2 separate regions of the Homo sapiens genome follow, and region 1 is linked to region 2. Evidence: promoter capture Hi-C in human tissues and cell types (Jung and others, 2019). All regions are on one chromosome and are shown on one strand. The core of a region is centred on a gene start or on the middle of the fragment in contact, and the rest is flanking DNA. Distances in the headings are between cores, read along the strand shown.

Region 1 (6,130 bases), core at 3,512-6,011, 54 kb after region 2:
TGTATCCACCCCAAAAGAAAATCCTCTGCACACACACAGAAATCTAACTGGAGCCAAAGAAATGGGCTAAATAATTTCATAATGCTTAGAACTAATATCCACTTACCTGTGATAAAGGATTCAAGAAGCACATAATTTATTTATCTATTTATTTTTGAGACAGAGTCTCACTCTGTTGCCCAGACTAGAGTACAGTGGCGTGATCTCGGCTCACTGCAACCTCCACCTCCTGGGATCAAGTGATTCTCATGCCTCAGGCTTCCGAGTAGTTGGGATTACAGGCACGCGCCACCATACCCAGCTAATTTTTGTATTTTTAGTAGAGACGGGGTTCCTGCCATGTTGGTCAGGCTGGTCTTGAACTCAACCTCAAGAGATCTGCCTGCCTCAGCTTCCCAAATTGCTGGGATTACAGGTGTAAGCCACCACACCCAGCCTATTTTAGATTTGAAAATACAATAAGAGGCCAGGCTTGGTGGCTCATGCCTGTAATCCCAGCACTTTGGGAGGCTGAGGCAGGCAGATCACCTGAGGTCGGGAGTTTGAGACCAGCCTGGCCAACATGGAGAAATCCCGTCTCTACTAAAAATACAAAATTAGCCAGGCTTGGTGGCGCATGCCTGTAATCCCAGCTACTCGGGAGGCTGAGGCGGGAGAATCGTTTGAACCCAGGAGGTGGAGGTTGCAGTGAGCCGAGATCGCACCATTGCCCTCCAGCCTGAGCAATAAGAGTGAAACTCCATCTCAAAAAAAAAAAAAAAAAAAGAAAATACAGTAAGAATCAGTTATCCCAGCACTTTCAGAGGTCAAGGCAGGCAGATCACTTGGGGTCAGGAGTTCAAGACCTGGGCTGGTCAACATGGTAAAACCCCACCTCTACTAGAAATACAGAAATTAGCCAGGTGTGGCAGCGGACGCCTATAATCCCTGCCACTTGGGAGGTTGAAGCATGAGAACAGCTTGAACCCGGGAGCCAAAGGTTGCAGTGAGCTGAGATCGTGCCACTGCACTCCAGCCTGGGCAACAGAGCGAGACTCCATCTCAAAAAAACTAACAAACAAAAAAGTATCAGTTATATGGCTGAAAATATCAGTCTACCTCTACTTGCCACAACTCATTCACTCAACTAAACTGAATTATCATTTCCATTATGAGGTCCATACTGAAATAAGTACACTACTAGGAAGATTTTTTTTTAAGTATTACAAATAATAAAATCAGGCCAGCCATGGTGGCTCATGCCTGTAATCCCTATGCTTCCGGAGGCTGAAGCAGGAGGATCACTTGAGGCCAGGAGCTTGAGACCAGCCTGGGCAATACAGCAAGACCCTGTCTCTATAAAAAAATTTTTTTTAATTAGATGGGCATGGTGGCAAGAACCTGTAGTACCAGCTACTTGGGAGGCTCAGGTGGGAGGATCACTTGAGCCCAGGAGATCAAGGCTGCAGTGAGCCGTGATCATGCACTGCACTCCAGCCTAGGTGACAGAGCAAGACCCTGTCTCAAAAAAAAATAAAAATAAAAACCATTTGCTTTTTACTATTATAACCTGGCCTAGGGATAAGATTGGAAGTTGGTAGAAACATCTCCAGTCTGGAAATTCCAAATTAATAACTGGCAAGGATTGAGAGGCAACTTTATCATTTCTAGCTCCAATATTATCAAAACTATACATATCTGATCTTCAGGTTTTTGCAAAAGCTGCACATTATCCTTTTCCAAAAGACTCCCCCTGCCCGTTACCTCTTCTGCTTTAATTAAGTGCTTGTACTTTCCAATGCCGTGGGTGGGCTTTGTCTTGTAGGGCCGACTGATACTTAGTAGAATTCCACCTAAAAGAGAGAAAATAAGACAAACCTGTTTTTTTGTTGTTGCTATTATCGTTGTTTTTTAAGAGACAGGGTCTTGCTCTGTCACCCAAGCTGGGATGTAATGCCATCTCATAGCTCATTGAAGCCTCGAACTTCTGGTACAAGACAGTCTCCTGCCTCAGCCCACACCCCCCTCCCCGCCGACCCCAAGTAGCTAGTACTACAGGCATGTGCTACCATGCCCAGCTAATGTCTTTTATTTTTTGTAGAGCTGGAGTCTTGCTATGTTGCCCAAGCTGGTCTGCAGCTCCTCCCACCTCAGCCTCCCAGGGTGCCAGGATTACAGGTGTGAGCCACCACACCTAGCTTGGACTACAAATTTAAAAAAGAAAAAAAAATATGTATACACACACACACACACACACACACACACACACACACACATATATAAAAAACAAGGTAACAGTAAGGATTTTTAAAAGTAATCTCGGAGATCTTTCTAAGCATGAAACAAAATCTAGAAATCAAATATTAATAAACTTAGTATATAAAAAGTTAAAACTTCTGTTCAACAAAAAATAAATAAATAAATGAAGTTAAGGACTAGATGACAAGAAAAAGTACAAAGCATACGTAACAGAGAAATGCTAATTTCCTTAACATACAATAACTATATTAAAACCTCTTTCTAAGCTCCTCTGGGAACAGCAGATGATTTGAGGGGACAAATTCTCCACTGCAGGACTGGGAAGATTTGGTGGTAGCTGACCTCTTGTTGGTTTAAGGAGCCATAGATATTTCTTGATCCTGGACGGATTCTCAGTTTGTCCCCTTATTCTCTCCTTTTGGCTCCTAGAATATGCACGATCCCCACTACTCATCTTTCTTTGAGAAATTCTCTCCTGATAAAGCCACTGGCAGTAAGGGGATAAAATACATTCTCAGAGGGCTCTCATCTCTTCTTGTTCCTCAACAGGCAATAATCCTTTTGAGGTTTTCTTTTTTTCTTTTGAAAAAAAAATCCTTTCGCCTTCCCTTTTGAAGTTTTCTAACTGTGACTATATAGAGAAAGAGACAGGCAGCAAAAATAGCCAGCAAAGAGGAAGAGCATAGAATTCCATAAAGTTTTTTTGTTTTTTTTTTTGAGATAGAGTCTCATTCTGTAACCCAGGTTGGAGTGCAGTGGTGCGATCTCAGCTCACTGCAACTTCCACCTCCCAGGTCCAAGCAATTCTCCTGCCTCAGCCTCCTGAGTAGCTGGGATTACAGGCACGCGCCACCACACCCGGCTAATTTTTCTATTTTCAGTAGAGTCGGGGTTTCACCATGTTGGTCAGGCTGGTATCGAACTGACCTCATGATTCGCCCACCTCGGCCACCCAAAGTACTGGCATTGCAGGCGTGAGCCACCGCGCCCGGCCATACAGTTTTACAAAACATCTAACTTGATTTATTTGTGCTGATCTGAAAACAGCCTCCAACAAATATCGTTAAGTGAACAACAACAAAAACAAAAACCAAAAGTGTAGAACAGTATGTAGGTATGCTACTACTGGATTAAAAAAATAGGGTCTTGGCCAGGTGCGGTGGCTCATGGCTGTAATCCCAGCACTTTGGGAGGCCGAGGCAGGTAGATCACGAGGTCAGGAGTTCAAAACCAGCCTGACCAGCATGGTGAAACCCCATCTCTACTAAAGATACAAAAATTAGCTGGGCATGGTGGTGCACGCATATAATCCCAGTTACTCAGGAGGCTAAGGCAGGAGAATCACTTGAACCCAGGAGGCGGAGGCTGCAGTGAGCCAAGATCATGCCACTGCACTCCAGCCTGGGTGTCAGACCCAGACTCCGTCTCAAAAAAAAAAAGGGGGGTCTTTATATATATATACATTGTGGTAGACCCAGGTAGCCATAGTGGTAGCATGTGTCTGTAGTCCCAGCTACTCAGGAGGCTGAGGCAGGAGGATTGCTTGAGACTAGGAGTTTGAGGTTGTAGTGCAAATAGCTGCTGCACTTCAGCCCGGGCAACATAAGAAGATCCTGTCTCTAAATTAAAAAAAAAAAAAAAAAAAAACAGAAAAGAAAAGATAGGGTAGAGATAAGAAACTGAAATCAGATCAGGTCTAGCTAGATTTTTGTATTCTAGAAATCAAGTGTTATAACCTAGTGGTTATGGACACAGGCTGTTCAGTCAGATAGACCTGAGTTTAAATAGAAGTCCCACCTGTTTCTTTCTGGTTACTTTCACCAAATTTTTTTGAGCTACTGTTTCTTCTTTATTTATAAATGAGGATAATAAAGAGGGTTAAAGGATAACATGTGTATGTGTGTGTATCTATATGTATGTGTATATGGCATCAAGATATGGGCAGCAAGTCCTTCCTTGAAGAGGGATCTTCAAGCTGCTGTGGTCCTGCCCTCATTTCTTCAGGGTCACCACTCTGTGAGGTATTAAACACAAGATGGTGTGAAGAAGTCTAAGTCAGCAGTCCCCAACCTTTTTGGCACTAGGGACCAATTTTATGGAAGACAATTTTTCCACAGATGTGAGGAGTGGGGAAGTGGTTTTGGGATGATTCAAGCATATTACATTTATTGTGCATGTTATTTATATTATTATTACATTGTAATATATAATGAAATAATTGTACAACTCACCATAATGTAGAATCAGTGGAAGCCCTGAGCTTGTTTTCCTGCAACTAGACAGTCCCATCTGGGGGTGATGGGAGACAGTGACAGATCATCAGGCATTAGATTCTCAGAATGAGTAGTGCTCAACCTGGATCCCTCATATGTGCAGTTCACAAAAGAGTTCATGCTCCTATGAGAATCTAACGCCACAGCTGATCTGAGAGGAGACAGAGCTCAGGTGATAGCTTGAGTGATGGGGAGTGGCTGGGAGGGGCTGTAAATACAGATGAAGCTTCCCTGGCTCAACTGCCCCTCATTTCCTGCTGTGTGGCCTGGTTCCTAACAGGTCACAGACCACGTACTGGTCCATGGCCTGGGGTTTGGGGATTCCTGATCTAAGTGACATCAAGTAAAAGTTTTCTTAGGCCTCTGTTTTCTAAAATGGGCTTCCAAGCAGGTTTGCTCTGTGTGAGGCCTATCAGAGATAGTACTGGCTTCAGAGAACTTCTCCACATTTACAATCCACGCTATTTCATCAAGACAACCCAGAAATATCATGGATCCCTTCCACGATATGCATTAATCCACATTTACAATTACATGCCAATAACTGTATAGACACTGAGACAGTTACAAAGACAAATAAAATATGCTACTTTCCCTTGAGATACTCGAGGTATAGTATGAAAGGAAGATAGGAAAGCAGATAATCACCTTACGGTGTACTAAGTACTTTAATGGACACGTGAGCAATGTCATAGGTGCTCAGAGGAAGAAAAAACTAACTCTGCCTTTGGGGTGGGGGTGCAGGGTGCAGGGGAATAGGTTCAGATGAGGAAACAGCTGCATTCTTGAAAGCAGAGTAAGAGTTTACCGTGTAAGGAATAGGGAGGTATTTTTGGCCAGAGGTTCCCAAAGAGCACAGAATATAACCAAGGTATCTTCCTGACTGCTGCCCCAGTTTCATCTCTCTGAATCTAAGACCTTTGACCTTTTGCAACTTCGGGCTCTAGACTCTCCAACCTGAGGACCCACCCATGGAGCTGATATCCAAATCTCTTTGATGGGTACACAGTGATCCTCAGGCCAGGACCTTGAAAACCAACCTCATCGAAGATTTTATTATGACTCAAAATAAGACCTCCTAAAAAGCACTGAACTCTCCAAAGTATGATCATCCATTCAACAAATATTTATTATTACCTATTAGGGTAGGCAGCAACCATTATACTGCACAATCATATGAATGGCACACACCAGAGTTGTGCAGTGTACAACCAACCCAATATCCATGGCAGGCTTGATAGGTACCACGCATTGCCCTAGAAGCTGGGGCTACAACAATGAACAAAGACTAAGTCCCTGCAATACAGAACCTGCCACCTAGGAAGACAGACACTAATATCAATGCAAGGTGATAAGGGCTGTCTATGATAAGCACTGTACACGGGAGGGGCACTTAAGATGAACTTGAGTGCCAGGAAAGGGTTCTTAGAGTGAGTGGCTTTTAAGTAAAACTTGAAGGATAAGTAGGAGTTAGGAGAAAACACGGTATAGGCAGAGAAAGAGCCAGAGATAATTTTAAAGTAGAGCAAGAGGATCAGGGTGGCAAGAGATGAGCTTAGAGAAACAGGCAAGGCTTAGGAAGGGCTTAATTATTGAGTACTAATGATATCCCAGACACC
Region 2 (5,627 bases), core at 31-2,530:
GTAAGGTATAAATTTAGTAAGGTGTAAATTTCTTAAATGCAGAAGGCTATGTTTCATTCATCTTCACCATTGTTTCAATTTGAAAAACCCTTATTAGTAGTAGCAGTTGCCAAATATAGCACTGCTATATTCATCCTGAAGCCTAGAGAAATAACTGGAATAGTATAAGATCAATAAATGTTAGATGAATGAATAGTTTGCTGTGTATTCCTAATTAAGACGTCAGCTTTTCTTCTTTTTTGAGATGAGTATCGCTCTGTCACCCAGGCTGGAGTGCAGTGGTGCAATCTCGGCTCACTGCAACCTCCACCTCCTGGGTTCAACCGATTCTCCTGCCTCAGCCTCCCGAGTAGCTGGGATTATAGGCGCCCACCACCAAGCCCGACTAATTTCTGTATTTTTAGTAGAGACGGAGTTTCACCATGTTGGTCAGGCTGGTCTCGAACTTCTGACCTCAACTGATCCACCAATCTCAGTTTTCCAAAGTGCTGGGATTACAGGCATGAGCCACTGCGCCTGGCCTGGATGTCAGCTTCTTGAAGAGCAGGAACCATCACTTATATTTAGAGTATACATCTGAGCTCCACCAAGCATCCAGTATGGGGCCTGGACACAGTATTAGTTTCCTTAATAGTATCGTCCAGTATGCCTAATATAGCATTAGGGGCCTAGGAGAATACAAAGGTTCCATCACATACACAAAGTGGTGGTGAGTACAGAGACTTCTGGAAGTAACTGACGACTAATCAATATTTGCTAAATGACTGCTTGGCCAAAAGCCTTCCTGCCTCCCAGTATCCCTGTCTTTCTCCAACTCACTGATACTAGTTCTGACGCGGGGATCACACAGCTCATGTGCTCCCTTGGCCTAGGGATAGCTTTTCAGAGAATGACCATACGGGTTTGATACTTCTTTTTCCGGACCCTGTTCCCTCCATATCCCTCGACAATTGACGAAGTAACCCCTATTGATATCCTGGACCAGGCATGGCTCTCCTTGACGCAAAGCAACATCCACTACCCGCCTCCTCTGACTCTGTTCTGGGCCTGGATTCACCTGAGGGCTTGCGCCCAGTCGCTCTGAATCCTCAAAGGCGCCGCCATCTCGACCCCGCCTCCACCAGCCCACCTCTTCCGCCCCTTCCCGGAAGTGAGTCCCCGAGAAGCGTGCGGCGAGGACAGAGGTGGGCTCAACACCAAGAGGCCACCAATGAAAACGTGACTTTTTCACATTCCCCGCCCCTTCCGTGTGCACGCTCCCCACGAGGGGCTGGTTCCTGAAAGGATGTACAGAGGATCCCCAACCGCCTGCGAAACCCAAGCCGCCGCGTAGGAGCGTGCGTTCGGGCCCTCTTCTCCCACCTGTTCGGTGAGCATCGCGTACCGCGTTCTTCAGGAGGCGTTGCGGGCACAACGGGGCTGCGATCAGCGGCCGCGCGCGCGCATGCGTCCTCAAAGTTCAAAGTCCTCGATACGCCTGAGGCGCCTCAGGCCTCGTGGCTGCCAGCATTTTTCTGCTTTAAGATCCTTTCCATGACTTCCTTGTTTAGGCCAGCCTCCACGATCCAGCTGCCAACCATCTAGCCTACCCTGATCTCTGAGCAGGGGTCGTCGTCATTTTACTCCAGAGGAGACTGAAGCCAAAAGGTGGTGAGAGGAGAGTACAGCAGCATTTACTGAGTCCTATAGTAGCCCAAGCGCTTTTCATTCGTTATATTAATCTTCATTCTAATTGTGCGAATTAAATATTATTAATGGGAAAACTAAAATGAAAAAGATTACATAGTAAGGCGTAGTGCTGGGATTTGAACACGGATCTCTTGGTTTAGGATCAAGGCACTTTCTATTCCACTGTTCTTTCTCTAAATTATTTGCTCCTGGCCCTATTTAAAGAGTTAACAGTGTATTTAGGAAGAGAAAACTATCATTTATTGAACTCTTTAGACATACCAGCCTCCTTACAAACCTTACCTTTTTTTTTTTCTTTTTTTTTTTTTTTGAGACAGGGTCTCCCGCTGTAACCCAGGCTGGAATGCAGTGGCGTGATCACGGCTCACAGTGTTGCCCAGGCTGGGCGCAAACCATCCTCCCGCCTCAGCCTCCCAGTGTTGGGATTACAGGCGTGAGCCATGGCACCCGGCTTCATCTCTGTGCTTCCAGAGAGGTTATTAAATGATGTGTCCAAGGGCACCAAATGAGGCAGTGACAAAGCTAGGTCCAAGTCTGTTTCAAAGCCCATTTTCTCCCTCTTGCTTAAGTTATACCGCCTCCAAGGCAAATGAGTTGTGTAAAGTGCCTAACTCCCTCTTGTGATTCCCCATTGCCCTCAGAATAAAAAGTCTTAAACTCCCTACTATGTCCTACAAAGCCTTGTGATGATCACTTACTTATATCGCCAGTTTAATATTGTCTTATTCTCACACTGTATTCTCCCATCACTGAACTTTTTTTTTTTTTTGCTCTCATGTGTCAGATTCTATCTCAACCACCTGCTCTTCCATTGACCAAAAATAGTTTTCCCATCTCTGGCTAACTTCTGTTCCATCTGTCAAGTTTCAGCTTGGAAATCACTTCCTCTAGGAAGCCTTCCCTGCCTATTCCTGCCCTTGTCTGGATTAGGCATCCCTCCACTGTGGTCCCAGTCTTTGCTATCTGTACACTGTGTAGTAAACTGCCCTGTTTCCTTGTCTAGGTTGTAAACTCCATGAAGCCAGGAACTTAACTGACTTAGACAGTCTTGAATCCTCAGCACTAGCATAGTGCCTGGTACATGATAGGTACTTAATCATTTGTTGAGTGAATGAGAGACACAGTTAAGGCAATAAGGAGTCCTAGTTGCTTTACAGCCCATCATGGTGAAATTTTTGCAAAGGCTGAAGTCATTTCTCTTCAAACCTTAAGTTCCTTCTGTATGCTGCTTTCTGCTGAGTGTTCTGATGCAGACGGGCAAGACAGTTTGGGCAAATAAATACACCTCACATTTTTGTATAGTTTACAAAGCCATCTCACCTTATAGACCCAGAGGCCAGGTTTCTGCATACTGTATGCTACAGCCACAGTGAACTCTTTCCATCCTTCCCATGTGTCAAAACCTACCCATATTTGGGCACTCTTTCACTTTGTTTGTTTGTTTGTTTTGGAGATGGAGTCTCACTCTGTCACCCAGGCTGGAGTGCAGTGGCACGATCTTTGGCTCACTACAACCTCCGCCCCTTGGGTTAAAGCGATTCTCCTGCCTGAGCCTCCCGAGTAGCTGGGATTACAGGTGCCTGCCATCACGCCCGCCTAATTTTTGTATTTTTAGTAGAGACGGGGTTTCATCATCCCGGCCAGGCTGGTCTTGAACTTCTGACCTTATGATCCATCTGCCTCGGGCTCCCAAATTGCTGGGATTACATGTGTGAGCCACTGCACCCAGCCTCTTTCACTTTTTAAACTTTGTTCTTCAGCATAGAATAAGGCTAGTAGGATAAAAGAAGAAAGGTTATTTATTTGAAACAGGGTCTCACTATGTCACCTAAGCTGGAGTACAGTGGCACCATCATAGCTCACTGCAGCCTTTGAACTCCTGGGCTCAAAGGATTCTCCCTCTTCAGCCTCTTGAGTACCTGGGACTACAAGTGTGTGCCACTATGCCCAGCTAATTTTTACATTTTTTTTCTTTTTTCTTTTTTTTTGAGATGGAGTTTTGCTCTTATTGCCCAGGCTGGAGTGCAATGGTGTGATCTCGGCTCTCCGCAACCTCCGCCTCCCGAGTTCAACCTCGGCTCTCCTGCTTCAGCCTCCTGAGTAGCTGGCATTACAGGCATATGCCACCACACCTTGCTAATTTTGTATTTTTAGTAGAGACGGGTTTCTCCATGTTGGTCAGGCTGATCTTGATCTCCCGACCTCAGGTGATCCGACTGCCTCAGTCTCCCAAAGTGCTGGGATTATAGGCATGAGCCACCGTATCCAGCCATTTTTAAATTTTTTTGTAGAGATGAGGTCTTGCTATTACCCCTGCTGGTCTCAAATTCCTGGGCTCAAGGGATCTTCCTGCCTCAGCCTCCCATAATGCTAGGATTACAGGTGTGAGCCATCGTACCTAGCTGAAAGTTTAGTTCTTTTTAGGTAGATCAGAGATAGCTTATCTAAAAAGATGACATTTCACCTAATTCATATTCCAATAGCAAAATCCACTGAGCTTATTGAATGTTATGTCAAGCATTCTCACAGTTTATCTCATTCAGTTCAAACCACTTTTCAGGCCTGCTCTCAGCCAGGCCTAGTGCTGGGGGCACAAAGGTAAATCAAGACGAACATCAGCCGGGCACAGTTGGCTCACACCTGTAATCCCAGCATTTTGGGTGGCTAAGGCAGGAGGATCACTTGAGCCCAGGAGTTTGAGACCATGCTGAGCAACATGGAAAAACCTTGTCTCTATTAAAGAATCAAAAAAATTAGCTGAGTGGTGATGCACACCTGTAGTCCCAGCTACTCTGGCCAGGGAGGGACTGAGGGGGAAGGATTGCTTGATCCCTAAAGATGGAGGCTACAGTGAGCCTGGGCAACAAAGCAAGACACCCTCAAAAAAAAAAAAAAAAAAACAAGCATCTGTCTTCAAGCTTAGAGTCTCCCACGGGAGACAGACACATTAAACAGGCTAAATGGTGCAGTCTGGTCAGTGCTATTTATAATTTAGGAACCTTACATATTATATCCCTACTCTAACCTGTTAATGTTCTATAGACTCCCCATCCCCAGGATGTCAACCTCAGTCCCTCAAGGCCATACCTGGACCCAACGGGTGAAGAAAGACGATGAGGAGGAGGACCCGCTGGACCAGCTGATCTCCCGCTCTGGCTGTGCTGCCTCCCACTTTGCAGTGCAGGAGTGCATGGCCCAGCACCAGGACTGGCGGCAATGCCAGCCACAGGTGCAGGCGTTCAAGGATTGCATGAGTGAACAGCAGGCGAGGCGGCAAGAGGAGCTGCAGAGGAGGCAAGAACAAGCCGGTGCCCACCACTGAGACCCCAAACCACCTATCCCCAGTAGATGGCCCTGCCAAGACCAGCACCCAGCAAGATTATAGAGGAAGAAATCCTAAATGCTGGTGTGGGAGGTCTAAAACATGGGGAGAGTTTTTGGATCTGGAGTTGAGAGCCATGGGTTTGGACATGACTGGCACAAACAGCTGTCATATGTTCATGGTCAGATGTCATACATTCTCAGCTGTCTTGTTCCACCAGTATTTACCAGGAAAACAAAGAATGTGTTAAGGGATGCTCCCCCACCCCACATCTTAAGTCAGTGTGCCAAGTACTGAGATGATTTTAGGGACATTTTATTTTAAATTAAATTTACAATCTAATGGTAAATTGATTACCTAATTAGTGCCTTTCTCTTTCATCACTTGTTCTGGATGTTTCAATCAGTTTAGTGGAAGGAAAAATAAATGGGGAAACTTTTTATTCAAATATGTTTTTCTTTTGTTTTTTTGAGACAGGGTCTCTGTTGCCCAGGCTGGAGTGTGGTGGTGGAGTCAGGGCTCACTGCATCCTCAGTGGGCTCAGGCCATCCTCCCACCTCAGCCTCTCAAGTAGCTGGAACCACAGGTGTGTGCATCACCACACCCAGCTAATTAT

What was found. Contacts are between HindIII fragments. The study calls those that stand out against the background at their distance.
Region 1: a fragment that was not itself captured here is called in contact with the fragment with the promoter of COA4 in region 2 in 6 of the 25 tissues and cell types used here (H1 embryonic stem cells, bladder, mesenchymal stem cells and 3 more).

Annotation. Positions count from the first base shown.
Region 1 is chr11:73,821,410-73,827,539 of GRCh38, reverse strand. It overlaps MRPL48 (mitochondrial ribosomal protein L48), which reads right to left. Exons shown (of 8, transcript NM_016055.6): 4 at 1,744-1,832. Among named protein-coding and RNA genes, the nearest start is that of MRPL48, 37 kb to the right of the region's middle. The HindIII fragment of the contact is 6,321 bases long and covers 1,601-6,130 here.
Region 2 is chr11:73,872,499-73,878,125 of GRCh38, reverse strand. COA4 (cytochrome c oxidase assembly factor 4 homolog) reads left to right here and starts at 1,280. Exons shown (of 2, transcript NM_016565.3): 1 at 1,280-1,369; 2 at 4,732-5,459. The coding sequence starts at 4,748. The coding sequence ends at 5,011. It overlaps PAAF1 (proteasomal ATPase associated factor 1), which reads right to left and starts at 1,127. Exons shown (of 12, transcript NM_025155.3): 1 at 1,058-1,127. The coding sequence starts at 1,104. RefSeq lists enhancers at 890-959, 980-1,029. The HindIII fragment of the contact is 11,350 bases long and covers 1-5,627 here.